Regions from separate parts of the Homo sapiens genome. Here all the other regions are linked to region 1. Evidence: promoter capture Hi-C in 16 types of primary human blood cells and fetal thymus (Javierre and others, 2016). All regions are on one chromosome and are shown on one strand. Each heading gives the region's core, a stretch centred on a gene start or on the middle of the fragment in contact. The rest is flanking DNA. Distances are from core to core; before and after follow the strand shown. Region 1 holds the start of CUL3 (cullin 3). Region 2 overlaps AGFG1 (ArfGAP with FG repeats 1). Region 3 overlaps MFF (mitochondrial fission factor). Region 4 overlaps RHBDD1 (rhomboid domain containing 1). Region 5 overlaps RHBDD1 (rhomboid domain containing 1). Region 6 has its middle 9.9 kb from the start of IRS1. Region 7 overlaps IRS1 (insulin receptor substrate 1).

What was found. The method cuts DNA at HindIII sites, captures the fragments that hold promoters and counts their contacts. A CHiCAGO score of 5 or more calls a contact.
Region 2: a fragment that was not itself captured here is called in contact with the fragment with the promoter of CUL3 in region 1 in 4 of 17 cell types (non-activated CD4 T cells, fetal thymus, naive CD8 T cells and 1 more); the score reaches 6.4 in non-activated CD4 T cells.
Region 3: a contact is called between a fragment that was not itself captured here and the fragment with the promoter of CUL3 in region 1, in 1 of 17 cell types (non-activated CD4 T cells). The highest score is 6.0, in non-activated CD4 T cells.
Region 4: a fragment that was not itself captured here is called in contact with the fragment with the promoter of CUL3 in region 1 in 1 of 17 cell types (fetal thymus); the score reaches 6.0 in fetal thymus.
Region 5: a fragment that was not itself captured here is called in contact with the fragment with the promoter of CUL3 in region 1 in 1 of 17 cell types (non-activated CD4 T cells); the score reaches 9.0 in non-activated CD4 T cells.
Region 6: a contact is called between a fragment that was not itself captured here and the fragment with the promoter of CUL3 in region 1, in 1 of 17 cell types (naive CD8 T cells). The highest score is 5.1, in naive CD8 T cells.
Region 7: a fragment that was not itself captured here is called in contact with the fragment with the promoter of CUL3 in region 1 in 4 of 17 cell types (naive CD8 T cells, non-activated CD4 T cells, naive CD4 T cells and 1 more); the score reaches 8.1 in naive CD8 T cells.

Annotation. Positions count from the first base shown.
Region 1 is chr2:224,584,031-224,586,758 of GRCh38, forward strand. CUL3 (cullin 3) reads right to left here and starts at 1,333. Exons shown (of 16, transcript NM_003590.5): 1 at 914-1,333. The coding sequence starts at 979. RefSeq lists silencers at 797-1,056, 1,387-1,806. The HindIII fragment of the contact is 1,789 bases long and covers 318-2,106 here.
Region 2 is chr2:227,473,735-227,476,462 of GRCh38, forward strand. All of the region lies in intron 1 of AGFG1 (ArfGAP with FG repeats 1), which reads left to right. Among named protein-coding and RNA genes, the nearest start is that of AGFG1, 2.9 kb to the left of the region's middle. The HindIII fragment of the contact is 3,002 bases long and covers 1-2,728 here.
Region 3 is chr2:227,332,216-227,334,943 of GRCh38, forward strand. It overlaps MFF (mitochondrial fission factor), which reads left to right. Exons shown (of 9, transcript NM_001277062.2): 4 at 204-373. Among named protein-coding and RNA genes, the nearest start is that of MFF, 8.3 kb to the left of the region's middle. The HindIII fragment of the contact is 1,684 bases long and covers 475-2,158 here.
Region 4 is chr2:226,982,887-226,985,614 of GRCh38, forward strand. The region is part of intron 8 of RHBDD1 (rhomboid domain containing 1); the gene reads left to right. It also overlaps a transcript of COL4A4 not described here. Among named protein-coding and RNA genes, the nearest start is that of RHBDD1, 150 kb to the left of the region's middle. The HindIII fragment of the contact is 3,318 bases long and covers 1-2,728 here.
Region 5 is chr2:226,845,330-226,848,057 of GRCh38, forward strand. All of the region lies in intron 3 of RHBDD1 (rhomboid domain containing 1), which reads left to right. Among named protein-coding and RNA genes, the nearest start is that of RHBDD1, 11 kb to the left of the region's middle. The HindIII fragment of the contact is 1,576 bases long and covers 598-2,173 here.
Region 6 is chr2:226,808,322-226,811,049 of GRCh38, forward strand. It overlaps a transcript of RHBDD1 not described here. Among named protein-coding and RNA genes, the nearest start is that of IRS1, 9.9 kb to the left of the region's middle. The HindIII fragment of the contact is 6,682 bases long and covers 1-2,728 here.
Region 7 is chr2:226,786,606-226,789,333 of GRCh38, forward strand. All of the region lies in intron 1 of IRS1 (insulin receptor substrate 1), which reads right to left. Among named protein-coding and RNA genes, the nearest start is that of IRS1, 12 kb to the right of the region's middle. The HindIII fragment of the contact is 1,475 bases long and covers 623-2,097 here.

The DNA of each region.
Region 1 (2,728 bases), core at 83-2,582:
AGTACATTTTAATTGCTTGCCACGGGGAAGCTGAACCAGATTTGACACCCAAAGTTATATCCTATATACTAAACATCGCAAGGGTACGACTCAACGTAATGCCAAAAAAGAAAAAGTTTCTGAGCAGAACACGTTTGCTGTCACTGAAAGCGATGAAACAAAGCTACTCCGCAAGGCGACTACACTCATTCTTTGGGCTCCCAAGGCTGAGAAATGGAGAACCAATTGGCCGGTTTGCTCTCTGTTGCTTCCCCCCCACCCGGCCTTCCTCCGAGTGGCGAGGCAATCCTGCACAAGAGTTTGTAAAGTGCTTAGGAAGCTTGTAGGATGAAAGACGCTATAAATACACCCAATGTTACTAGTTTATGACCACGGAGCATTCCGTGGAACCACTGTCACTGCGTCGGGGGCAGGTTGATGGCATAGACCTTCCTGGGGAGGGGGGCAGAGAGAGAGGGCAGCCCCTTCATCACCCTAAAAGCTAGGCTGGGTAAATTTTCAAAGTGTAGCGAAACCCCACGTGAAAAGTTCCACACACGCCCCACACAGGGAGGACTCCGCGGCTGCTAGCAGCGCCGGAGACTGGGCCTACAACCCCGGCAACGTGGGGAGGCGTGGGGCGGCCGAGGGGCCCCGGCCGCAGCCGACGCCCGCGGAGCGGCTGAAGGAGCAGCTCCCGGACGGGGGCGCGGCGCCAGGCCCGGGCTCCCGGCGCGGGGAACGGCCCGGGAGGGCGGCCGCGCCGGGGCCCCGCGCCGCCCGGTTGCCGGGAAGGCTCGCGCCCCGCGGCCGGCGGGCGTGGGGGAGGGGAGGCCGGGCCTGCGGCCTGTTGGGGGACTTCAGCCCGGGCCTCGCGTGCGGCTCTCGGCCCGGCCCCCGGCCCCGGGGTCCCGGACGCCGAGGAGAGACTCACCGGAAAGGCCCGGATCCGCATCTTGGTGTCCTTCCGGCTGCCCGTGCCTTTGCTCAGATTCGACATGGTGCTCGTCCCCTCCCCGGCGGCGGCTTCAGGTCGCGCTCCGCGACGCCGGTGTCACATTTAAGGCGGGCAGGCAGGCTAGGGGCGACGCTGGGGGCGGCGGCGGCGCGACCCCCGGGCAGGGCTGGGGAGCTGGCCGGCCCCTGGGCAGCCGCGGCGGCGGCGGGGGCGGCGGCGGCGGCGGCGGCGGCTCGGACTCTGGCGACTCCGATGCGGCTGGGGGGCTGCGCTGGCGCGGCGGCTCCGCGGGGTCCCCCTCACGTCCGGCTCGGCTCCCTTTATCGCGCTCCTCCGCGATGGCGGCGGCGGCGGCGACGGACAAACATCTCACTGCGCAGGCCGAACGTCGTCCTCCTCCTCCTCCTTCTCCTCCTCCGCCTGAGCGAGACGAGATCCGGCCCAGAGGGTGGAGGGGGGAGGAGGGAGGGAGGAGAGCCGGAGAGTGAGAGATGCCGGGGGAGGGAGGTGGGAGGACGGGAGGGGGAGCCCGGCGGCCGCCGCGGGGGACGCTCAGATCTCGCGAGAAGAGGGCGAGCGCGCTGCCCCCCTGGTGGGCGGGGCGAAGCCCGGGAGAGGGTGGGCGCCACCGGAGGGGAGGAGGGGAACAGGGAACTGAAGGAAGTGGGAGGGGCCGGCGGGGCGGGGAAGCGGAAAGGGGGCGTGGCTGAGGGCGGGAGGATTAAGCTGCCTTTTTGAAAGTGGAGCGCCAGGTCCCGGGTTCTGGGTGGAGGTGGTTGCTGATTGGTGGAGCTCGGAGCGGCGGTTGGGAGGGTCCTGGTCACATGGTGGGGAGTGGGAGGGGGGAAGTTCGGAGAGCGGGAGCGGGATGGTAGTGGGCTGGGCCCCACTGGGCTGGGACAGCAGGAGGATAGTCTTGAGGAGGAGCGTGGGGTGCTAGATGTGTAACTACGTCCCGAACTGGTTCCTGTGTTTTTCTAGGGCATGTGGACTAGGGATGGGTACTTGAGTAGAAGCCTGCAACTTGAAGAGTTTGTGCAGGAGTTAGCTGCAGTGTCGGAAATTAGTGTCCTGTATGCTCAACAAGGTATTCGGACTGGGTGTGCACACCACAGCTCTCAGGACTGGAAGGTGGAAATTTAATCTACGAAGTTCCCTTAAACTGCATAAGCTTCGGGACCTCTTGATTCACTGATATTTTCTGGTGGACCCAGGGCTTATTCATGTTAAAACCTGTTTTTCATTACCATCAGAATAAACTGACAGCTCCATTAATGAAATGCAGCATTTGGTAAATAATGTTAAGTGGAATGATAGAAACCTATCTTTAACCTACCGGATAAATCATTTCTACCATTACCAAGAGTATTGTAGATTTTTAAAGCCAAAATTACCGTCTGATTCAGTTGCTGTATATTTGAAAAGGTTTTGGCTTTTGGTTTTGGAGGAGAGGCGTTTGGTCGCTTTATAGTCAAAATGTCTAATTTGACTTATCGGTTTTGCTGTCCATTTGTTATGAATTGTACTTCCTCATTTACCTACTTGCCCAATTGCTGTTATGTTTGGGTTTCTGACTCTGCAAGGGAATACGTGAGTTCTTATTAAAGTTTGTGTTCTTCCTATTTTAAAGAAGCATATGTTTGGGGGATGGATATCTACATTTAGAAGCTGGAATTTTAATACTTTTAAATAGCAAACAATATAAAGTGAAATACACTTATTTGTTGACTGTAAGGTTGAATTTGCCCTAAATTAACTTAATCCTGATGACTAAGCTTATGAGTGTTGTGC
Region 2 (2,728 bases), core at 70-2,569, 2.9 Mb after region 1:
TTATGTGGGAAAATTGATTTCTTAAAACTTAGAAAATGCAGAACATGTCTAGTATGTACTATTTGCTTTTTAAAGTTGGGCAAAGAGGCATTATTAGTATTACATGAGTGTTATTTCTTCAGCAGACATTTTTTTTGGTGCCTATTAGGTTGTGTAAGGCCCTGGGGTGTGCCAGTAAATATAGCAAAGTCTTGTTCTCTTGGTTCTTACAGTCCAGTGGGGATGCAAAAGTAAGAAAAATGTCTTGGGCAAGTACTATGCTGAACATGAAAATTGTTTGATAGGAGAGTGCTCATGGTTACTTTTAGGCTGTGTGGCCAGGGAGACACTCTGAGAAGTTGCCAGTTAATAATATTCTCGAATTACTACAGAATCACAGAGCTAGGTGATATCAAGGAGGTAGCCTGGTTCATGCATTTCATTTACAGAAAAAGGAGTTAAGCTAGAAAGTTGTTACTTACGTTGGACAATATTGGTTCCAAAATGAAGCCAATAGAACAATTGTAATTGTATTTGATTTTTATTACATGGTTAAGATGTATGTCCTGCTTTTACTAAACACAGGTCCTTTAATCCATGTAAAGTATTTGATTTGGAAAAAATACATATATTTACACTTCCGGATTTCTGACATTTCTGTGTAGTCCCTGTAAGTACAGCAGCAAATGTGTAATATCAAGGACATATTTTCAAATTTCTTCCTAGATACCACATTTCAGAAACATTGTGCATAAAAGGATATCTCAGTATAATGACAATTATTTATCTTAATGGAACTTAATCTGTGGCAGATAGGACTTCATTTCTCTATTGAGTCATTCCACAAATATTTATTGCCTACTTGTCCTGTGTCATAAGTTACCTGGATCTTAACTGTTCTATGGAGCGTGCCTTGTAAGTATGTAAACGTAGAGTTACAATATATTGTAGTATTTCCTTTCTGTGAATGAGATAGCCAGGAAATATGTAAATGATACAGCTTCTCTGGGAGTTGATGCCTGAGCAAAGACCTTTAACGAGAAATTCTGCTTCATATGTTTGAAAGATCAAGTACTTATGAGCTAGGTACACATGGCTTTGAATCCTGACTCCAAGTATTAGTTATACGGTATTGAGAATGTCACTCAATCTATTTGAGCTTGATTTTTCTCTTATATGAAACAGTGAGGATAAGATTTCCCTTGTAAGTTTTGGATGTAGATTTGTTTTCAGTATTAAAAATAATGTATGTTAAACATCTCACGTAATGCCTGGTATATAGCAAGTGCCCTATAGATGAGAAGCATCAAGGAAGAGGACATGCCATGAGTAAGGGAACAGTACTGTATGTGAAAGATATTAAATAAGAAATATCCTAATAAAAATCTGTCACTTTGGATTTTATGGTTGTAACTCAAAACCGGAATCTAATTGGTTTAAAAATATGAAGGGTTTATTGATTGATTTTAAAGTAAAACTATACAGTGGCTTAATAATATTGCCTAGATTTTCCTCATTCGAGCATGGTTGTCCCCAGCTCCTGGGTATACTGCCTTAATTATGTCGTTGGTCCAATACTTTCAGAAGTTCTGCATTTCCCTCTGATTGGGTTAGCTTAGATCATGCCACAACTGGACACATGTTCTAACCTGACTTCATTGTCACAAGGATCCCCAAATAGAGTTCCCAAATCTGAAATCTAGAATTCTTGGGATGTAGGGAATGAAGACTAGAGTGGCAACCATCAAATGTCTACTGCAGAACGTTGGAGGGACAATAGCTTCTGAAGATTTTTTTCTTTGACAAGCAATAGTGCAGGAAAATAATTTAGGAAGAATAATATAACTCTTGGGTTTAATAATTATGTATCTGATGTTTAGATGACATGGTATAATTGAAAGAATATGAATTTTGAAGTCAGATTTTGACAATGCTACTAGCTTCGTGGCTTAGGGCAAGGTGTTATGCTAGGCCACTACATGCAGATTGGCCCAGATCCATCCTTGTAGCCTCAGTTTCTTTATTTATGTTAAGAAGATATCATATAGCTCAGGGTTGTTAAGAGGATTCAATGATACACATCGTTACTGTATTTACTTATTGAGCACATACCGTATTTGAGGATAGGGCTAAGCACTGGAGTTACAAATATTGAAATAAGGCATGCTAGCTGCCGTTCCTTGATTTACCTGGAAAATATGAATACATAGCAAATAGTATCCACTATCATGAATTCTAAATTTTAGGATAGTGACATACCTTCTATCATTTATACTAATACCTTTTTTTAAAATAAATTGAACTAGCATCTTGTTGTTAATGTTACTAGACTTGGAGCTAATCTTTCTTGTTTCTTTTTTTTCAGATGACTGTCCTATATGCTTGAATGATGTTCATTCAGAGTGTAACTGAATTTAGATTGTAAAACTTTAAAATGAACTTCAGAGTTAGATGCAGTTAAACTATTTGTTACTGAGGCAGAATGATGAAGGCATCCTAACTGATTGGTTTGTCACTATCTTTCACTGTCTTTCTGGTTGTATTTATGGAAATCCCTAAAATTCTGAATGGACACTTCAGACATTTAAAATATAGCCAACAGTAAAAATGGCCTTCATGTTAAATAACTTCTAGTTGATTTAAAGACTAGTTTTAGACTAAATTATTTGTTTTATGGAGACTATAAACATTAGTATAATTGATATGTAATATAAAAGATTGTCCTAGCCTTAAAAAGTGATCCATAAAT
Region 3 (2,728 bases), core at 67-2,566, 2.7 Mb after region 1:
CCCGCCTCGGCCTCCCAAAGTGCTGGGATTACAGGCGTGAGCCACCGCGCCCGGCCTGGAAGCATATTTTGAAAGAAACTAATGCTTATTGGGTGGTATAATTCAAAAGCAGAAGAAGGTAAATACATTTTAACAAAAATCACTGTCTTTTTAAAAAACCTCCCGCTTTTCTCTTCTTTGTCTCTTTTCTTGAAAACTCCTAGGAAATAATGAAGATGTTTCATTTTCAAGACCAGCAGATCTTGACCTTATTCAGTCAACTCCCTTTAAACCCCTGGCACTGAAAACACCACCTCGTGTACTTACGCTGAGTGAAAGACCACTAGATTTTCTGGATTTAGAAAGACCTCCTACAACCCCTCAAAATGAAGAAGTAAGTAGAACTTTAGTATCACCGGAATTTGAAATAATGTAGACAAAGGTAAAAGAGAAGAGCAAAGAGGCTTTATCATATCTTTAGCAATATGTCATGAAAGCTTTCCATATGGAACATTACTAATAATTCTAATTTACAAATGTGCCAAATAAGTTATTATGCTATTTTTAAAATTTGAATATTATGTTTTAGGAAAAATGTAAGTTTTGTGGTAAGTATTATTAAGTTCCTGTGGTTTGAAGAAAGAGCCTTTATGGGTAGGTGTTACTTGTTAAATAATAAGAAAATGTTGGGAAGTTTAGCAATAAGAAGTAAATGTATCACTTTGTTATAAAATCAGTCTAGCAAACAGGGCAAAGAAAACCCTTTTTCGCTTGACACTACCCATTCTCGCTACTTGATTAAAAGTTTCTACTGAGCTACTCTACTGCATCACGTTAATGTGCCAGTTGACCTAAATGTAGCAGTGTAGACTAACAAGGTGTTAGTAACAGAGTTCGAATCCTGCCTTTGTCATTGACTTACAGCTAACCTTTGAAGCTGCTTTGCCGTGATGATTGCTGGGGTTACATCTTTTTCATATAGCTTTTGAACTTCTAACATGTTGTCATGAAGCTAGTATGAGACAATGTGCAAACATATGTTTTTATTAATAATGGTACTGCTTGTGTCTGGTTTCATTTTGCATGTAATACTTTCCAAAGAGGGTAAAGCACCCATACTGTCTAGGGCAATGCAATTTTCTAGGATTAGGTTCTTAGATTGTAAGTTTCTGCTGACATAATTGAGGTAATATGCTCACAGTTAGTTTGGATATTCTAGGTATTTGGTGAAAAGCACTAAATCTGAGCCTTTACATGACAGAAAGGCACTAACATACTTGCAGAATTGTATTATTTAACAAACATTTTTTAACTTTTATCTCTGAGATACTATATGCAGTATAGGAATTAATGAGACATAGTTCCTGCATTCAAAAAGTTTGCTGTCTGTCTGGTTTCAGCAGGACAATGATATGAGTGAGGGAAAGACATCAACGCATGCAGAAGATACAAAATTCTTTAATAGCAGAAAATAATGAAAGTTACCAAGATGGTTACATAAAACAAAAGTATCCAGTGTGCTCCCAGTTTAAGGCCCAGCTTTCTAACTCCCCAAAGTTCCTTGGGAATTATACCTGTGAAAATAATTGTCTTACAGTGACGATTTTGCCAGGAAAGAAATGCTCCTTATTGTATTCTTCGGGTTTTTCTGTTGGTCTTTCTGCTTCTCCTAATTGAAAGCAACCCAAGCAATTCCCTGATTGATTATTTTAAGAGTGAGTGAAGAAAGTTTGCCGGGATTTCCCTCAGTAGACCCAGGCTTTAAGACTCTACGGGGTTCATTCCTGCATTAATTGTGATATTTAGTCAAATGTGATAGATGTTCAGAGTGTATAACACTGGGGTAAAAAAGTTTGTGTGAGAATTAGAACTAATTTTGAAGACCTACTTTGCCATTTACTAACCACATAACTTTGGGCAAGTTATTTAACAGTTCTAGGGCGTATCTCTGAAATAAAGATAAGAATAATGCCAAGTGCATGAGATTGTTATGAGAATTAAATGTAATCATGCATGTTCTAATTCGTGTTAAAAGCTCAATATATATAAATGTTATTGTTAGGAGAGACTTAAAATCCTGTGGCAGGAGCCAGATCCTGAAATGAAAGACGAGTTTCTGAGATTAATACCAGCTGCTTATTGAAAGCAAAGATGATGGTTTGGACTTCAAGTTTATACAAGCTTATAGAAGGGTCCAGTAGCCTTCAAGAAGCACTCAACTGCAGTGAGCAAGGGAGGAAGGGGTAAGGGAGCCAGGGTTCTAGTAGCTTCTAGAAATTGACTGAAATAGAGAAGCAGTAAGGGCCTGAGTACTGATAACATTGATGATTCATTCAGGTGTTAACTCAGAATCGATAAAGTGAGATCCCCAGAACATTTGCTCTGTATCATTCTGCAGTGGATGCTAGAATGAGGTAGAGCAATAGTGCTCTACCTCAGCACTGTTGGCATTTTGGACTGGAAAATTCCTTGTTGTGGTGAGAGCCACCTTTTTGCACTGTAGAATGTTTGCAACATTTGTGATCTCTATCTACAAGATGCCATTACCGTCTTCCAAGTCATGATATCCAAAAATGTCTGTAATAGCAAAAAGGTGGAAGCAAGTAAAATATCCATCAGCTGATGAATGGATAAGCAAAACATCATCTAGCCATATAGTAACTCTTATTCAGCCATAAAAAAATGAGGTACTGGCTGGGTGCGGTGGCTCATGCCTGCAATCCCAGCACTTTGGGAGGCTGAGGTGGGC
Region 4 (2,728 bases), core at 112-2,611, 2.4 Mb after region 1:
CACAAATAGAATTTTAACTAACGATTGTATTTGTTGTGTTTTTCAGGATAGCTGGGTTGCACTTTTATCTTTTAAAATCTACATCATCCAAGGTTGAGCATAGCATAACCTAGGAAACTACCAGTCTTTGACTCATAGTAAATGTCACCAGAAACCTACTTGTACTAAACCAAATGCCATGCTAGTGCAAATGGTCAAAGGCAAACATAACCACAGAACACACTATGGCATTCCTGTGATCAGAGTTTCTCAAAGTGGGGCATGTGGGCATCCAGCTCACTTGAGGTGCATGTTAAAAAATGCACATTTCTGGGTCCCCCAACAGACATTGATCTGGAATCTTCCATTAGAACCCTAGAATCTGCCTCTCACCAAGCTCCCCGACGTGGATTTGAGAATCACTGTTCTAAATCCAGCATCTAGTATTTAGCCCTTCGAAGCATGCTGTGTTTTCTGCGGGAATGTGGCACGGAAGTATTGGGTAGCTGTGGGACCTGGGGCCAGTTATGTGGTTCACTTTATTTGCTGCTAGTCAGTCAGGCCACCTAGCCTAGGGGCCAGCCACCTCAATCCATTTCTTTTCCCAGGCCCAACAGCCTTGTTTTACAAGACACATGGTTATCTGCAGTAGTTGTCCAGGGTGACCTAAACTTGACCACTCGGGGATGGTTGTTCTCAGCAGAAGTTGCCAACTTTTTGTCCCTTTTCAAAGTTCTTTTCCCACTGGCTTGTCTTTTTTTTTCCTTATTCCTTGAATGCTTGGGATGATGTTTACTTGTACTTTTTTTCACGTGCAAAGGTTAAGGAGTGTTTTAAGAAGATTGAGGTTTCTGAGGGAAATGTTGGCTAATTTCAAATGGTCTTTGATTTCAAAAGTCAATGAAAACATTCCCTTGATCCTTGGTTTGAAGGACTGGAAATTGGGCCATCTCTCTGGTTTGAAACTCAAGTGGAAGGGAGTGAGAAAAAAATAAAACAGGTCTAAATATTATCAAAAATGCTTCTTTATACCTTTAGCTGAACAGAAGATTTGAGAGCCTGGGCAAAACGCAATGGTGTGGGGGATCTTGTTATTTGTGAATGGAGGAACTGTCCCTGCTCGTATAGGAGGGTGAGCCATGCAGCTGGCATTGTGTCCCTTGGAGGGAGGGAGCTGCTGTCTCCGGCAATTATGAAGCCACCACTTAGGACAGAGTCCCAAGAAAGATGTGCTTTCTTCTCCACCAGAAAGCACATCTGTTCACCGCTCTGATCACTGGGGGTCTGCCCAGCAGCTGTGACAGCCAGCACCTGCTGAACTACCAGTTGCCAAGCTGCCAACTTCAAAGATGCTGTCTTAGTCAGTTTAGGCCACCTTAACAAAATACTACCATGGACCCGGTGGCTTAAACAACAGAAATTTATTTCTCACGGTTCTGGAGGCTAGAAGTTCCAGGTACTAATATGATCAGGTTATAGTGGGGTCCCTCTTCCTGGATTATAGATGGCTGCCTTCTCACTGTGACCTCACATTGGCAGAGAGTGCAAGCTCTGGCCTCTTCATTCCCTGATAAGTTTACCAATGCCATCACGGGGGCTCCACCCTCATGTCCTCATGTAAACCTAATTACCTCCCAAAGGCCCCACCTCCACATGCCATCACATTGAGGGTTTGGACTTCAACGTATGGATTTTGAGGGAACACAAATATTGAGTCCATGACAGCCTTCGTGACCTCTCTGAGCCTAGGCGGACCAGGCAGAACAGCAACAGCTAACGCCCTGGGGTCGTAGGCTAAGGAATTAGAAATATTCTCCTGAAAGGAACCACTGGTGCTGGAGACTTTTGCAGATTCCTAGAACTCATGGAATACTCAATTTATAAGCCCTGGTCTTGTACATTCACTCAGTGCTAGGCCAGAGAAACCCCCAAGTCAAACCAAGTTCTGAGTGTCCTTAGACAGCAGTGTGCACTCTGAACCAGGCATCAGGCACAGTCAGAATGAGAGCTAGATGGGCCTTTTATCTCACTTCCGCCCTTCTGATGCTCTCCTGGGGGTTGGGGTGGGGGAGGGGGAGGAGGGGCAGAAGCAAAGAGGAGGATTGGGGGCAAGTACAAGTGGGGGGTTTGAGTGAAAATGTGAGCCAGTAACCAGTACCACCTGATTAGGCCTAACATAGATCATTTTGAGTATTACTGCATCCAGGATTGATTGTCTTATTACCATAGATTATGTCTGTTTATCTCCTCTGATTTGGAGTTAGCATATTTAGGAGGCTCCGGATCATTCCTGCAAAGCACTCACTAACACGAGGCAGCATGCACAATAGCAGGAGGAAATTCAGGATTAGAACTGGTTAAACTATCTACATTCATATCCATATCTGTATCTATATCTCTCCCAGTGCCTTGTCAGTCTCCTCTGCTCTGGAAGAATTCTGATATGACATAGAAACTGCTAGATGCTGGCAAATAACTCCTGGGTTTCGGGCCATCTAGACAATAAACAACTCCATAATATTCAATGCAGCAGCCTCTGTAGCGCCCATCTGTTTCAAAATAACCCTAATTCTGCTTACGATGCGGAATGCTTTGTTGACTGGAATTTGTCCTAGTTTTCTTCAGCAGATTTAATGTCATAGGCCTCTGGTTCCACCTGCTGGCAGATATAAATACCAGAATGAAACTCGGGTGGATATGTTCAGTTGCAAGAAAAATCCGAGCTGTAGCTCAATGGTTCTCAAAGGCT
Region 5 (2,728 bases), core at 136-2,635, 2.3 Mb after region 1:
ATATATATACATATATAATCCCATTTAATCCTTGTGAAACCAAATGAGCCTATGTTATCTTTTACAAGTGAAACTCTGAAGGTTAACTTTCCTAAGAGCACGTGGCTGGTGTATCGTAGAGCCAAGGACCATGCCCTTAACTGCTGTCCTATGCTGCATATGTTAATATTGCCACCCTTGTATATAATTTTGGCAAAAAGCACTGGGACATTTCTTTTCCCAAAGCCCATCTCTTTACTTTCAGTTCCCTGACAACTTCTTTATATTCTGAAACTGTTAAAATGTGTTGTATTATCCATCATCTTGTGCTTCTGTTTGTTGGGAATGTGGCAACAGCTCCTGTATTGCAGCAGTGTGCCCTGTGAAGCCATTTGTTCTTTATGTCTTAGAGCAGCCTGACAGCCTTTCGTGTTAAATTCAGCAAGATTGCTTTTCATTTAACAAAGCTGAATGTTGCTTTCTAGGTGAAAAATAATTAAATGCTTTTAAAGATATATTTGATTAACAGGAAGCTGATCTGTGTAAATTAATTATAACCATAATGATGTCATAGCCTTGTCTTTTGTTATTAGCCAGGTAATTGACCAGAAGTTTAGAAGCTTATTGTAACTGACAGTTAGTAGTTTGACCTTGTGTGCTGTCTGAAAGTGAAACATGCACAATGAATGTAAATGCAATTTGTTCATTGAGCTGCATGTGCTGTCAGAACATCTGATCTTGGGTTCTTGTTTTTATTTTTCCATTATTTCTTTGTTGAAATTGGTGGTCAGGATTATATACTCACAGTGAATATTATATGTATTTATCTTACTAAAAGCATCTGGCCAAACGCAGTGTTGCTTGTGTCCTGGAATAACTATAATCAGACTTGAAACCTTGGCACATTTAAGACATGCAGTCAAATAAACAAATGCCAAAATTAAATGAATCTCATTTTTAAAGTTTGTATGAAGGATAGTAAAACAACTTTTGGTAGAGAAATCAGAAAAGGAAAAATAGGGGCATATTTGATAGAGAATTTATCCCCTCTAATTCTGATTTTTCTGAGAAAATTAAAAGCATTTGGTATTTTGAATATTTGAGTAATGAAAACTTCCAGCTTTTGTAGGTTTGATTAAAGAATGGAAGTGTAGGCCGCGTACAGTGTCTCACGCCTGTAATCCCAGCACTTTGGGAGGCTGAGGCAGGTGGATCACCTCAGGTCAGGAGTTAAAGACCAGCCTGGCCAACATGGTGAAACCTTGTCTCTACTAAAACTGCAAAAATTAACCAGGCATGGTGGCGGGTGCCTGTAGTCCCAGCTACTCAGGAGGCTGAGGCAGGAGAATTGCTTGAACCCGGGAGTGATTCAGCTCAGCAGTGAGCTGAAATCGTGCCATTGCACTCCAGCCTGGGCAACAAGATTGAAATGCCATCTCAAAAAAAAAAAAAAAAAAGGAAATGTAAGAGTAAAACATGGAGAACATGGAGTAGAAGTGGGATAATAATGAATGACAATCAGCCATTATTAAATGGTTAAAAAATATGTAAGTACTATATATGTAAGTAAATGTGGCATTTTACCTTCAAAAGTCCTGACCTTTGCTTGTGGAAGTAGTTGTCAGAATTGCAGCTTATGAATTTTTGTCAAGTAGTGGAAGGAGGGTTTTGTCAAGTAGTGAATGGAAAGTTGTTAACTGCACATGTGGATAGGTATAGCTCATAATGTACTCTGTGAACTGGGGTAACTGATAGATGTTTGAAATGTATAAAATTGTTCATTTTGTGAATTTCTGTGCAGTTTGCCTCAGCAGGGTGCAGTTTTCTGCATGCATCAAAAGTGAAATTTGCACTTCTGCTCAAATTATTCCCTAATATACAAGTTGCATTTGAGCAAATTTTTTCATTTCAAAACAAGCATTATAGTGGAGCAGAATGGAGCATACTAGTTACTTCTACTTCCCTAAACATTATCGTATTTTATGTCTCTATGGTAACAGCACATGCATGCTATTTTCTTTCTTTAAAATACCTTTCTTTCATCCACTTTTTATCTTTCAAAGCCTGGCTGGGGTGAAGAAACTTCCCTAAGGTCTTCTCTGAATTACATTGACTTAACATTTTCAATATTGACATATATTTTTATTATTTGCCCATTTCCAAAAAGTATCTGCTTTAGATGACATAAGACACAAGCTTGTAGTAAAGAAAGAAAACAGCAAACCCAAATGGTTGAGTGGCTCTCAGCAGAGGAAAGCATATTCATTTATTAGGCAAACTTAAGCTTTTTCTAGCTCTGATGAGATTTTGCATGAGAAACATTGTCTGAATGGTGCTTCACAACAATATGAAGATGATTCTTTGGGTGAGACCTATGTCAAGGCCTCTAATGTTAGATTATATCTGCAAACGTCATTCTACAAAGGCAAAATGACCTGAACTGACCATGCAGCTTTCAGTGATCTGGCAAAACACAGGGATAGTGATCCTTTATACTAGAAATTCTTAAAAGGTAGAAAAGCAGTTTTCGCCTCTCTGTGAATTCTCTCTCAGAGTAAACCTTGCTTTGCAGGGTAGGGCTTGGGGGTGAAGGAAAGCCAAGCATGGAACGCCTTGCAACTCCCCAATCCCCTAAAGTCCTCCCAGCCAGAATCCTAGCCAGCCAGATGCCTGGCCCTGGTAGGAGAAAGTTGGAGAAGGTATGGGTGCTTTTGTTCCTCAGCTTCTCTATTTATATAGAATACATTCT
Region 6 (2,728 bases), core at 95-2,594, 2.2 Mb after region 1:
ATGGCTGGGTTAAGAAACTACTCTAAAGGAATAATTATGAAACATCAACTCTTTTATTATGCTCTAGGATTCTATGGGCCAGGAATTCAGACAGGGCACAGTGTTGATGGCTTGTCTGTGTCCTGGCTGGGATGGCTCAAATGGTTGTGGGACTATTTGACTTGAAAGGCTGGAGCCTGGAATCATTTGAAACATTGTTCACTCATGTGTCTGGCACCTGCGTTAGAATGACTGAAGGCTACATCAACTAGAGTACTTACATCCGGTCTCTCCATGTGACTTGGACTTTTCACAGCGTGGAGGCTGGATTTCAAAGGTGAGTGTCTGAAGAGAGACCATCTCGAGAGTTAACATGCCAAGAGGGAGCTTCTAGAGAGGAGGTGTTCCAAGAGAATCAGACAGAAATTGTGTAGCCTTTTATGACCTTACCTCAGAAGTCAGAGCTTCATTTCTACTGTATGTATCCTATTGATCAAAGTAGACATGAGCCCACCCAGATAAAAGGGCAGGGAACCTAGACCACAGTTCTTGATGGAAGTAGTGTCAAAAAAAAAAAAACTTGTAGTCATTGTTTTAAACTACCACAGATTGAAATACTGTGGCTGAACAGGAATGGGGAAGATGGGGGAAGATCAGGAGTTTGGTTCTAGACATGCTGAGTTTCAGGTGCTTATTGATCCTCCGAGTGGAGATATCAAGTAGGCATTTGTGTATATAAACCAGAGTTGAAAAGATGAGTCTGGGCTTAGGTATAAATGTAAAGGTTGTCAGCCTATGAGTAGGATTTAAAGCCCATGATACTGGATAAAATCATCAAGAAAGAGAAAGTAGATAGACAAAAGAAGAGGACAAAGATGCCAGCAAGGGAGACAGAAGAACAACCAGTAAAGTTGCTCTCTTTTAGGCAGGAAGACACCATATCAGGAAAAAGAGAGTGAACAACTGAGTCAATTGCTGCTGATGGTCAAGTCAGAAGAAGACTTGGAATTAACATAAGATCTAGCATCATGTTTGTGTTATGTATAAGATATTAACATTGATTGCAGATGCCCACAATGTTTATGATCTGACTGAATTCTTTAGTGGAATCACAAAAGTTCAACATACTCAGATGTGTACAGTAGGTTAGTAGAGTTTGTAGGGATAATTATGGCAACATATTTTATATTTCCTAAATAACTTTAACTTGAAAAATTCCTATGAGGACAGAGATACTAAAGTACAGTGGATGCTATGTTTAGTCTCACTATGCAATTTAGTCTTGTCTCTAAGATTAGACTTCTAAACATTCTTAAGATTTTGAGAAAGAGAGGGAGAGAGAGAGACACTCATATTAATAGGAAAAATTGCCAAGATATGTCCTAATTTTTAAACCAAATATTTTAAAATATTTTAGACAAAAGTTTATATCTAGGAATCTACTTCTAGATTTATTAGTCTTTACTGATTTAAAACTTTACAAAATAACAAATAATAGCTTTCACCTTTTTAAAAACTATTTTAAAAGACTAATGTAAGGTAATTTACTGCAAAAGACAAATATCAATACCAACACCTAGTTTTAAGTTGGAAAATGTGAAATAAAATCTTATGTAAAATACATCAATACCCAACAATATAATAATAATGTAACATAAAATTACCATGTCATTGGTGGGACACACAATTTACTAAAGTGTAAAAACCATAACATAACTCTTGGAATCTCTATAGAACTACAAAATATAGTTGATGCTTGAACAATGCAGGCATTAGGAGTGGCAACTCCACAAAGTTGAAAATCTGCATATAACTTTAGACTCTCCAAAAACTTAACTTCTAATAGCCTACCATTGACCAGAAACTTTACTGATAATGCAGTAGATTATCACATATTTTGTATCTGCATTATATACTGTATTTTTAAAATAAAATAATCTAGAGAAAAGTGAGTATTGACGGGGCATGGTGGCTCATGCCTGTAATCCTAGCATTTTGGAAGGCTGAGGTGGGTGGAACACCTAAGGTCAGGAATTCGAGATCAGCCTGGCCAACATGACAAAATCCCGTCTCTACTAAAAATATAAAAATTAGCTGGGTGTGGTGTCAGGCACCTATAATCTCAGCTACTTGTGAGGCTGAGGCAGGAGAATCGCTTGAACCCAGGGAGGTGGAAGTTTCAGTGAGCCGAGATCACACCACTTCACTCCAGCCTGAGCAAAAGAGCAAGACTCCGTCTCAAAAAAAAAAAAAAAAAAAAAAAAAGTGAATGTTAAGAGAATCATAAGGAAAAGAAAATATATTTACTACTCATTAAGTGAAAGTGGAGCATCCTAAAGATCTTCATCCTCATCATTTCCAGATTGAGTAGGCTAAGGAGGGGGAAGAAGAAGAGGGCTTGGTCTTGCTGTCTCAGTGGAGGCAGAGGCATAAGAAAAACGTGGATAAATGGATCCATGCAGTTCAAACCCCTGTTGTTCAAGGGCCAGCTGTATGCTTAAACACATCCCTGGGGGTTGTAAAACTAATGTTACTGTTGTTTTCATTTTGCAATTTTTCCATCTTGATATAAAAGCAAAAGTAAAGCTAATCTATGTACAATTTATTATAGGTCAACTGAGAATGGCAGAGGACTCATCCCACCTTTGCCACATGGTGACTTGCCCCACTCCCCCAGGTGACCTTGCTCGTGCATGTGGATATTTGCTCAGATTAAGAATGTTTCCCACAAAATTGCTTACTCTCTTTC
Region 7 (2,728 bases), core at 110-2,609, 2.2 Mb after region 1:
TGGGAGGAAGCCTTATTTTTCACTCTCTACCTTAAAAAAAAAAAAACAAAAACAACAACAACAAAAAAAAACCAAAAAAAATTGGAAACTTACAGCATGTACATGTATCACCTATACAAAAATACAGAGAAAAAAATAGTGTGAAGAGACCCAGCAAGCTATTATAAAACTTGGTAGTCTAAAAAAAAAAAAAAAAACTTTTAAAACATGTTTCTGTAAGAGACTACCACAAACTTAAAAATAAACGTGACTGCATATCATCAAAACAGAGGGAGAAAAATCTCAAAAGCAATTATACTTGCAGCCAGAAGCAAGCAAGGAACCACAGTTCAAAGTGTTGGACCTTTTCTTCATTAAAAATAAAAACCACCCACCCAAAGGAAAAAAAAGAAAAAAGTCCTTGAATAACAAAGCTAAGATAGCAAGAAAAGACTTTAAAATTTATTTTGTAGCCCCCACTTTCCCCCCAGGTTTCCTAACACTGACCACCCCATAACAAGTCCACATTCAACCCCTCTTCATTTAACAGCTGGATGCCTCTTCTTCTGGTTGCTTTCACTGGGACTAAAGATCCAAAGCAAAGATATCTTTTTTCCTGCTTTTTGTCAATATTATGTTTGCAAGCTTAATATCCAAAAATGGGCCATTCTTCCAAATGAGAGTTCCTTCCTGATTATTTAGTATGCTGATGGTATTGTCAGACAGGAAGCCATGGTTAGAAAGATTCAGAAAAATACAAACCTTTAAGCTAGATGGGCACTTTTGCCCTTTAGGTTTATGAAAAATGCCAACTTTTGTGAACTACACAATCGGAATCTTGATTTGGTTTTCCCGGATAACTTATGTCATAAGAAATTTGGTAACTCCTTTGGTGATCTCCTCTCAGTACCATTTTTCCCTCCATTTCCATGAATCTACCTTCATCCCCTTTCAATAAAAGGTGTACTATTTGGAACATGATAGGTGCTCAATAGAGCTTACTGAGTAAAAGAAGGGGAGGGGAAGAACAAGAAAAAATGGCTTAGGGCCTATTTGACAAAAGCAGATAATTTATGTTAGGGTTGAGAAATGGGTGGTGGGCTTGAATAGTATTAAAGACAATTAAAGATCTTCTGATCTTCTGATTGTCCCCACAACCCCTAAAACTCAAGGGTAAACATAATTATTTTTCATATCCATAGAGCCCTCCAAATAATTTTTAAGTGAATAGGGACATGATGATTGGAGAAGATTAGATAAATTATAGTTGACTACTTAGCAATTACTCAATATTCCAGTGGCCTTTAACTAACTGCTAAATGTTTATAAATGTCTTTTATTATTTTGCTAGCTCACTTAGATCATATCCTTCCTAAAAGTAAAAATCATGACTTTCTGTGCAAAACATAATTTGTTTGCCACATTACATATATTCAAAAAAAAAAACGTCTCTTTGATCATTTCAACAAACGTGAGAAAACTTCTCAAGATTAAGTGATATTGTTCAGCAATATGACCTAAATATGTCAGGGAGGATCAGAGAACATGCATTAAAGTATTCTTTGGTCAACAATAAAAGTGGAGTGCAAGGATACATATGTAATATGCAATATTTATAAAACTTGGGATGGTAAAAAGGAATACAATGAATGCAATCCAACTCAGCTTACTCAATAAAACATTCCTGGTAGAGTAATAAAACCACAAAATCTCTACTCTGCTTTAAGAAAACTGCAACTAGAATCATAGTCTGACCCATGTATTCAACTCTACTGCCATTATCAATGGAAAATACAGAAAAAGGGTCAAAAAGCCTTTTCAACATAAATACATCTTTTTCAAAGCTCTATTATTCAAAGATCACTGGCTCACTGAATAAGCACAAATAACATTTATCCAACCAAATTTATTTCAACAAATAGATTATAGCAGAGCCTGCTGCAAGAATACTATTAAAATGGAAAGTGTTCCTTTTATCATACATGACAGTACCTTATACTTGTCCAATCCATCTTCTCCCTTTTTGTGAATTAAGAATGGGAGAGGTACTACCATTTCCAAAGTATAAGACAAAAATAGAAGCAAATAGATGATACTTACTAACCTATCTTCTTAAAAAGCTTTACAATAAATTTTTGTAACTATGTCATATTAGTTTGAAATTAGTATGCAATTATTATATCATACTAACGTTAAAATGTAATTTTAAGTTAAAATTCAATATGATTACACTTTCTGAACATGTTTCAATAACATTTTAAAGACAGCTCTCAAAGTCTGCTGCATAGCTATGGACTAATAAGGTAACGAAGGAATAAATCAGTTACATAATTATAAATGTGGTAGAGGCAGGATCTATTATTTTACATGCAAAAAAATACTAGTATGAAAAAAAGTTACAGGATCTTTAGTGTGAAACTGGCTTCAAGCATGATTCACAAGAAGCTATTTTCCTTGAATACAATTTCCAGTAACTTTGTAACATGAGGAAATAATTGAGGAAATGGCTTTCTTTAAAACAAAACAAAACCTTAAAACTGTGAAATGTTCCAATATACTAAATTACCAACCCATCAAAATAAAAGGAACCATTTATATACTATTCAGCTAAGACACATATCTGATTATAGTGAGAGGATTGGAAAAGCATAAGTCCGTGGAGTTTCTTAAGAGGCAACAGACTATTTTAATGACTTGTGAAATCCACATGGAGGGACAAAAAAGGTCGGAGCTTCTGAATATATTGGCA